Linked DNA regions of Homo sapiens: region 1 is linked to region 2. The links are contacts of gene promoters, found by promoter capture Hi-C in human tissues and cell types (Jung and others, 2019). All regions are on one chromosome and are shown on one strand. The core of a region is centred on a gene start or on the middle of the fragment in contact, and the rest is flanking DNA. Distances in the headings are between cores, read along the strand shown.

What was found. Contacts are between HindIII fragments. The study calls those that stand out against the background at their distance.
Region 1: a fragment that was not itself captured here is called in contact with the fragment with the promoter of ELAVL1 in region 2 in 1 of the 25 tissues and cell types used here (dorsolateral prefrontal cortex).

The regions. Positions count from the first base shown.
Region 1 is chr19:7,856,399-7,860,540 of GRCh38, reverse strand. EVI5L (ecotropic viral integration site 5 like) reads right to left here. Exons shown (of 20, transcript NM_001159944.3): 12 at 3,417-3,449; 13 at 2,210-2,350. Among named protein-coding and RNA genes, the nearest start is that of PRR36, 16 kb to the left of the region's middle. RefSeq lists an enhancer at 2,439-3,224. The HindIII fragment of the contact is 4,169 bases long and covers 718-4,142 here.
Region 2 is chr19:8,002,697-8,007,129 of GRCh38, reverse strand. It overlaps ELAVL1 (ELAV like RNA binding protein 1), which reads left to right and starts at 1,489. Exons shown (of 6, transcript NM_001419.3): 1 at 1,489-1,635. It overlaps LOC105372266 (a long non-coding RNA gene), which reads right to left and starts at 1,317. Exons shown (of 4, transcript XR_936302.2): 1 at 1,172-1,317. RefSeq lists silencers at 1,114-1,603, 1,834-2,033, 2,064-2,113 and an enhancer at 4,188-4,433. The HindIII fragment of the contact is 8,326 bases long and covers 1-4,433 here.

The DNA.
Region 1 (4,142 bases), core at 1,553-4,052, 150 kb after region 2:
CGTGGGGCCCCAGGCCATGGCTGGGGGATGGGCAGCCTCCATGCCTGCTGGCTTCTCCCCGCCTCCCCAGAGCCCTTCAGCAGGGAGAGGGGCCCAGGCTTGGGGTGTCCTGGGCTGGACCCCCTGATGCTCAGGGCCTAGAGGTCCTGGCATCCATGCAGCTGGCCCGGTCCAGCTTCCTTCCTGGAAAGGCTGCACAGAGGGGACATTCTGAAAGGTGACTTGCCTTGGCCTTCGGATGCCCCGCGGGACCCCAGTGACTGGTTTTCCGGGATCACTGGTGAGGGTGGGAGATGGGTTCTTGCTGGGTGGTCACCGTTCCAGCCACATGGTGGGCGAGGCAGGGGGTGGGGGAGAGGCCTGGGGCTGTGCACCTGTCTTTCCACCTCTCTCCTCTGCATCCCACCCTCCATTTCAAATCAGGGAAGGATGAGGAAAGAGTTTGTGGGTATCACCCTCTTGCTCCATGCCCTGGCTTCTCAGAAGTTCCCCAGTGGGGGCCCCTGGAGTGATGGACACTGCCACCTGGACCTGAAAAAGGACACCTGGTCCCTGGGGTGGGAGCCGGGCTCCCTCTCACTGACCTTGTGGCCTGGCAGGACAGTTCTCTGGGGGACTGCCTCAGCCCTCCCAGCCACCATCCTCTTCCTGTGGGTCTCTGAGATCCACGTGTGACGGTGGCTCTGCCTCGGCCCAGATGGCCTCCAGGCCCCATGTGGCTCCTCTGGGCCACCTCATCTTGCCTGCAGTGGCCTCCCTTTGGGCCTGAGGAGGTGGCCTTGGGCCTCCCCGATCTCTGCATCCCCCCAAGGTTGGAGCTCAGGGGTGGCTGGTGGAGTCTCTCTAACGAGCCTGAAAGGCGGCCTCATGCAGTGGGTGGGATGAGCCCAGCCTCAGTTTCCCTAATGTCCATGCTGCCTCAGAGCAAGGTGGGACAAGAGTGCTCACAGACTCTGAGGGCCACAACGCCAGCATCATACGGATGTGGTTCATGGGGACAAGTGAGAAACAGTGAAGCTCTCCTTCTCCCCAGGAGCAGTGGATCCGCTAGAATCCCTGGGCCAAGGCTTGAGCCACAGTCTCTGGGCCTGGGGGCGGAGGGGGCACCTCTGTATTGGATGGCTCTTCTTTCTCAAGCACTCCATGGTTTCTCCAACCTACACCCCACTGCCAGGCCCTGCTGGGTCAGGCCAGGATGGCAGCGGGACCTACAGCGTCGCTCCCGGCCCCTCCAGGGCATGTGTCCCTGTGGCCTGCAGGGCTTAGGACTGCAGCCACTGGGGGTCCCTGCGATCAGGAAGGCCAACTGCTGAGTGCAGCTGCAGTTAAGTTTTTTTTTTTTTTTTTTTTGAGATGGAGTCTTGCTCTGTCACCCAGGCTGGAGTGCGGTGGTGCCATCTTGGCTCACTGCAACCTCCACCTCCCGGGTTCAAGTGATTCTCCTGCCTCAGCCTCCTGAGTAGCTGGGACTACAGGTGCGCACCACCATACCCAGCTTATTTTTGTATTTTTATTAGAGATGGGGCTTCATCATGTTGGCCAGGCTGGTCTCGAACTCCTAACCTCAGGTGATCCACCTGCCTCAGCCTCCCAAAGTGCTGAGATTAAGGCGTGAGCCACTGCACCAGGTCGCAGTTAAGTTCTAAAAGCTTTCAGGAGAAGAAAATCTTGGGGTGGGGCCCCACTCATGGGCCTGCCCATCATGGGACCCAAAGTTCATGGCCCTCAAGACACTCAAGGTGCCCCCTCAGCCCCACCCTGCTGGCTCAGAGCTCCCCAAACAGTCCCGGACTGCCCTGCTCCCATTCTCCATGGCTGGCCCCCCAGGGACACCTAACAATCCTTCAGACCCTGGGGACAGGCAAGAGCCTCCGTAAGGAGTCACAGCCCTGTCTGCTGCCTGTGACACAGAGGAAACCCTGCAGGGACAGCCCGGTCTTCAGAGGCCTCCGTGCTGAGGCTGGGGGTTGGGAAGTCAGATACTGCAGACACACTATGAGGTGGCAAGAAATGGATATCAGGATGTCTCAGAATGTGGAGCTGCTGGGGGAGAATCTGCGCTTGTCTCTGGGTTCCCCTTACCCCAGAAAGGAACAGGAGGGCCAGGTGCTGAGGCGGGGCAGATTATGAGCCCTGAAAGAAAACCGTTGGGCGGGGGCGGGGGCGCGGGTCATGGCCCCGCCCAGCAGCCCCGCACACCCGCCCCTACCTGCTGCTCCTGTAGCTGCCGGATGGTGCTCTGTGCCTTCTGCAGGTCCTCGGCCGCCGAGCTGCACTGCTGCCGCACCACCGCCAGCTCCCGCTTGATGACGTAGTTCTCCTCCGCCTCCTGCGCCCGTGTCACTTGCCCCTGAGAACAGCGAGGACAGGGGGCAGGGGGAGGCCGTGACCCTCGGCTCCCACCCAAGGCCCTGCCTCCCGCCACAGGGGGAGGCCCAGAGAGTGGAGGTGGGGGGAAGTGAGGTGGGGGCCTCCCGTACTCAGAGCCTGGGATGAGCGTCCCACTGGGCCTGGGGACGTGGGTGGGTGACAGGCAGGAATAGGACACCTGGAGGAGCCCGGGAGGAACAGAGCTAGCCCTGGGCTTGGAAAGCTCCATCTCCTTCCCCACTCTGGCTCTCAGTCTCTGCCCCAGTTGGGATCCTTATCCAGGGGCACAGCGAGGCCACCTGTGCCTATTCATGCCAGACTCTGCCGGTGAGGGTGAGGATCTGGGGACAGCTGAGGCCCCGGCAGGAGAGGGCTGGGCTCCCCAGGGCATTCACCTCTCCCAGCGGCATCTTCTCTAGTCCTGGGCTCTGGGGCCTCCACCTGCCTGGAGCTAAGACCCCCTTTTTTCCCCCACCTCATCTTTGTCCCCTACCCAACTTGGGCCCCCCATTCCAGGCTCAAAGCCACCAGGTGGCGGGTGGCAGCTTCCAGATAAAGCCATTCAAGATGAGGTGGCAGCAGGAGCAGGTGAGCTAGAGAAGGTGGTAGCAGGCATTGCAGGTAGGAGCAGAGAGCAGCAGCGTGAGGGCCGGGCGTGTGTGTGCGTGTGTGTGTGTGCATGTGTTGTGTGTGTGTGTGACCGCAGCACTGCACACACCAGGGCCTTATGTGAATATGGTTTTAGGTTCCCCAGCCCTCCTGGGTCCCCACCCTGTGTCGCCCGGAGGAAGCTTTCTGTACATGCATGTGGACATTCACACCCAAACGCACTCACAGCCCCTCCACACACACCCTTCTCCCCACTTCACATGCCCCGCCCCCCCGGGAAGCCTCTGTGTCCCCCAGAAGCGGTCCCCAGCTGCTCCATGCATGGCGCCAGGCCTGCCCGCAGAATGGCAGGGAAGAGGCGGTTACTGGCTGTCATGTGCAGGGTGCAGGGAAGGGGCCAGGAAGGAATCCGGAGAGGGGATAAAAAGCTACAGTACCTGGATTAACCTATCAGCCAGAGCAGCGCTCTCCTACCCGGCGAAGGGGGTTCCCAGCGACAGGGGGAGGAGGCAGAGCGGAAGGCGCGGGGACAGGAGAGGGGAGACAGACAAGAACCACTTGTCACTAACGCAGTGGACTATCTCTAGAAGCGGGGGAGAGAGGAGGGAAGACCAGAGAACCAGCAGGAGAGGACCCGGAGGAAGACCAAAGCTAGAGCCAGCTCCGTCCTGGAGAGGGGTTCGGTGTGAGCGGGGAGGTCGGGGGTGCCCGCGGCTGTGGGGGAGGCCGCAGGGCTGGGAAACCCACTGTCCCACCCTCCAGGGTCAGCCGGGCCGCTGCTGGCTGGAAAAACTGTGGGGGGCAGGGGGACTTTTGGCTTCGTGCGGACCTCCTGGAGAGTGGGAGAGGAGGGGGTGCGTTGTAATTTTAAGGCAGAACAAGGCTTTGGGGTGAGGGCAACCAAATCCGGCTGCCAACCCACTTCCTGTGGCCAGTGGAGGGTCAAGTGAGGACGAGTGAGGAGCAGGAATTGGGGGCTCCCGGGGCTGGGGCTCAGTGAGCCCCCAATTCCACCCCCATCTTTAGCATGTTGGGGAGCAGAGTCCGGGCTGTGGCTCCCCACCATGGCGCCACGCTTCTCCTCCACTGGGTTTCCTTTCCTTTCTTTTGAGGGCAAGACTTCCAAATTACAGGGTGGGGTGGCTTGTGGCCCAATTACGGGG
Region 2 (4,433 bases), core at 240-2,739:
ACCGTGGCTCCCGCCTGTAATCCCAACACTTTGGGAGGCCAAAGCAGGAGGATCACTTAAGTCTAGAAGTTTGAGACCAGCCTAGGCAATACAGCAAGACCTCATCGCTACAAAAAAATAAAACATTAGCCAGGCATAGTGGCACATCCTGTAGTCTAAGCTACTCAGGAATCTGAAGCCGGAGGATTGATTGCCTGAGCTGGGGAAGTTGAGGCTGCAGTTAGCTGTGATCATACCACCGCACTCCAAATTGGGTGACAGAGTGAGATCCTGTCTCAAAAAAAAAAAAAAAAAAAGAAAAACAAAATTGTAGGCCAGGCGCAGTGGCTCAAGCCTGTAATCCCAGCACTTTGGGAGGCTGAGGCGGGCAGATCACGAGGTCAAGAGATACAGATCATCATGGCCAACACGGTGAAACCCCGTCTCTACTAAAAATACAAAAATTAGCTGGTTGTGGTGGCGCAGCGCCTGTAGGCCCAACTACTTAGGAGGCTGAGGCAGGAGAATCGCTTGAACCTGGGAAGCGGAGGTTGCAGTGAGCGGAGATCACGCCACTGCACTCCAGCCTGGCGACAGAGCGAGTCTCCGTCTCAAATAAATAAATAAATAAATAAAAATAAAAAGACTATTATTTTCAGATCATAAAAAAAAAAAAGAAAAAATTAGGCAGAGTGCAGGCATGCCTGTAATCCCAGCTCTTTGGGAGGCGGAGGCAGGAGAATCGCTTGAGTCCAGGAGTTCGAGACCAGCCTGGGCAACAGAACCAGAGCCCATCTTTACATAAAAAAAAATTAAACATGTAGCTTGCATGTATTTCTACTAGGGCATTCTAGGCCAGCGCTGGTTTAGAATGTTAGCCCAATAAGACCAGGTATTTTTTTTCTGCTCACTGCCCATACAGTGATTGACACACAGTAGGCGCTCAATGACATTTTAATGAATGAATGAGATGCTGAGCCTTCGGGAACTGGCTTGCTCAAAGAGCCAGCACCGATGAAGCGCTGACCACGTTCCATGCCCCGCCTCCTCAGCGCACCAGAGAAGGAAACTGAGGCCCGGCAAGGTGACGTCAGCTCCTGCCCAACGGCACGTAGTGCGGAAACGTCGGGGCCGGGATTCGAACCCAGGTTCTGTACCCGTAACCCCGGCGCGCTGACCTTTCCTACCTTACCGGGCGGCGGCAGGACAGACAGGTGCGGGACACACGGCGAGCGCTCAACCAGAGGCGCCGCTCCTCAGCCACCGCCTTCCGTCAGCCTCCGAGGGCCGGAACCCAGTTCGCCCCCTCCGCGGCCATCGCTGGCTGCCCGCGTCTCCGCCGGCCGCGGAGCACTTCGCAGGCGGCGCCGACCGGAAGTCCCGCCTCTCCCGCGCGCCCCGGAGCGCCGCGACAGCTACGCCGGCCAATGAGCAGCGCGCCGTGGCGGACGTCGGCCAATGGGCTCGCGCGCGGGGGGGGCGTGTCCGGGCCGCGGGCCGGAGCGGGTCGTGCGCGCTGAGGAGGAGCCGCTGCCGCCGTCGCCGTCGCCGCCACCGCCGCCACCGCTACCGAGGCCGAGCGGAGCCGTTAGCGCCGCGCCGCCGCCGCCTCCCGCCCGCCCCGGAGCAGCCCCGGGCCCGCCCGCCCGCATCCAGGTGAGGCGGTGGGGGGCCTTCGGCGGCGCCCGACGGGGTAGGCCGCGGCAGGCCTGAGCTCGCCTGGCCTGGCCGCGGGGCGCCCGCGGGCCTGCACCGGCCGAGGCCCAGGCCGCGCCGGACCGGGGGAGGGGACGCGCGCTGGGGCCGCGGCGGGCGGGTCGGGGCGGGCCGGTGTGGGCGCCGGCTACAGGCCCCGGGGCCGGATTCCTCTGGCGCCTCGAGGGACGGGCGAGGGGGATACGGCGTGGGCATGCGCCGGGGGGCCGGGCTGCACGGCCGGGGGCCCCGGTCGCCTTGGAAGCCCGGGCTCCGGGGGCGGGAGAGTGGGGCCAGCTACGGGGGAGCGCCGGGAACGCTTTGAGCGCGCAGAGGTCACGGCCCACGGGCTTGCTCCCCCGGGAAATCCCACAGATTCTTTTGTGGTCGTTGTCAGAGCACCGCGGCCGGTGCGAGGTCCTTTGAGAAGTGTGCAAACCCTTCAGTAGATACACGGGAGTCCTGGGGGAAAAAAAAAATCTAAACTGCATCTTTTTTTGAGCGCCATCTCTAACAAAGCTGTTTGTGGGGCGTGGGACGTTAGGATTTGTAAAATATGTGTGTGTGCCTGTTGGAAACACAAGCTGCACACAGTTGAACAATGGGGGATGGATGCCCTTCCTTCCTTTTCCGGTGCTCTGGGCTGCGGGGCTTGTTAAAATGGGTTTTGGTCCCTACTGTGTGCAGGGCAGGTGGAGAAGAACTTCTGCACAACTTCTGCATGGGCTTCCCGTGGTGGGACTGAGCCCCCTTGCTAGAAAGTGTTCATCTAAGATCCGGATGGCCAGAAATGGGAAGATGAGGAGAATGATCTGTCTAGAGCAGGGTTTCTCGACGTTGGCCCTACTGATGTTTGGGGTCAGATAGTTTTTGGTTGTGGTGGTAGTGGGGGCTTCCCTGTGCAATGTAGGAAGTTGAGCCGTATTCCTGGCCTCTACCCACTAGATGCCAGCAGTATCCCCATGCTCCAAGTCGTGAGGATCAAAAGTATCTCCAAACATTGCCAGATGGCTCGGGTTGCGGGGGAGGGGTCTCTTCCACTCTCACACGCACAGGTGAGAACCATTACTGAACTAAATGCTCTTCCTCCAAAAGTTCTAATGCCCTGGGAGATGCTCCCAAGACCTCGAACAAGCTTGACTCTGTTGAGCCTTAGTTTTCTTATCTATAAAATGGGAAGGACAAAAGTGTGGTGCAAATTGAAGAGGGTGGAAATCCCGTTGCGTTGTGCGTGGTCTGTGCCTGGTAGGCACTGAATAAATGATGTTGTACATAGCCACCAGTATTTATTGAGGATTTACTATGTGCTTGACACTTTGTGGACGTTTGTCTGCAGTCCTTGAGGCAGGTGATGTTATAATTTCCATTAATTTCCATTTTAGAGATGAAGAAACTGAGGCTTAGATGGGTCACTTGATGTGACCAGTCTCATGCACTAAAGTGGCTGCGCCAGGGTTTGAACTCGGGCCCTCTGATTCAAAACCCTTACTCTTAACCACTCGATTGTACTGCTCCTATAATCACAAGGCTCCAGGGCACTCCAGTTGTCATCGAATATTTTCTGTGTGCAAAGTTCTGTGCTGGGATCTATTATCAAATTCTGCAACTTCGAGGCCCACAAAGAGGTTGAGATACACGAACGTCTCAAATGTGGAAGGAAATAATACTGTTTATGTTGATGCATTGGTTTTGAGCAGACAGAGTTTCAGTCTGGATGTGTTGAGTCTGAGATCATGGTGCTATTTCTTTTTTTTTTTTTTTTTTGAGACGGAGTCTCACTCTGCCGCCCAGGCTGGAGTGCAGTGGTGCGATCTCGGCTCACTGCAAGCTCCGCCTCCCGGGTTCACGCCATTCTTCTGCCTCAGCCTCCCGAGTAGCTGGGACTACAGGCGCCGGCTACCACGCCCGACTAATTTTTTGTACTTTTAGTAGAGACGGGGTTTCACCGTGTTAGCCAGGATGGTCTCGATCTCCTGACCTTGTGATCCGCCCGCCTCGGCCTCCCAAAGTGCTGGGATTACAGGCGTGAGCCACCGCGCCCGGACCATGGTGCTATTTCTTTTTTTTTTTTTTTCTTTTTCTTTTTTTTTTTTTTTTTTTGAGACAGTTTCACCCTTGTTGCCCAGGCTGGAGTGCAGTTGTGCCATCTCAGCTCACTGCAACCTCAGCCTCCCAAGTAGCTGGGATTACAGGCAGCCGCCACCACGTCCAGCTAATTTTTTGCATTTTTAGTAGAGGTGGGATTTCGCCTTGTTGAGCAGGCTGGTCTCGAACTCCTGACCTCAGGTGATCCACCCGCCTTGGCCTCCTAAAGTCCTGGGATTACAGGTGTGAGCCACCGCGCCCAGCCCATGGTGCTATTTCAAGTAAAAGAAATGAGAGAATTATGAAAAAACTTTATGAAAATTTCTTGCCTCTCTCACTCTCCGCTTCCCATCTCTTCCCTCTTTCCACACTCCAGCAGGAGTTCTGTTCTGTAAATGCACATCTAATTGTATCCCTTCTGATTTAAAATCTTTGTGCAGAAAAAAGACACGTTTTCTTGACCTCTCTGGTGGCTTAAAAGATAAAGCTAGAAGCCCTTAGTTTGGAGTGCCAGTTCCTTCACACCCTAACCCTCCCCGCCCCTGCACGTAGACCCCAAACTCTAACCCTCCCTGCCTGTTGCAGCCTCCACCTGGAGACAGATCTCTTCCACCTGGAGATCCTTTGCTTATGCTCCATGGCTCAGCCCAGAGCTCACTGGCCGTTTGAAGCCT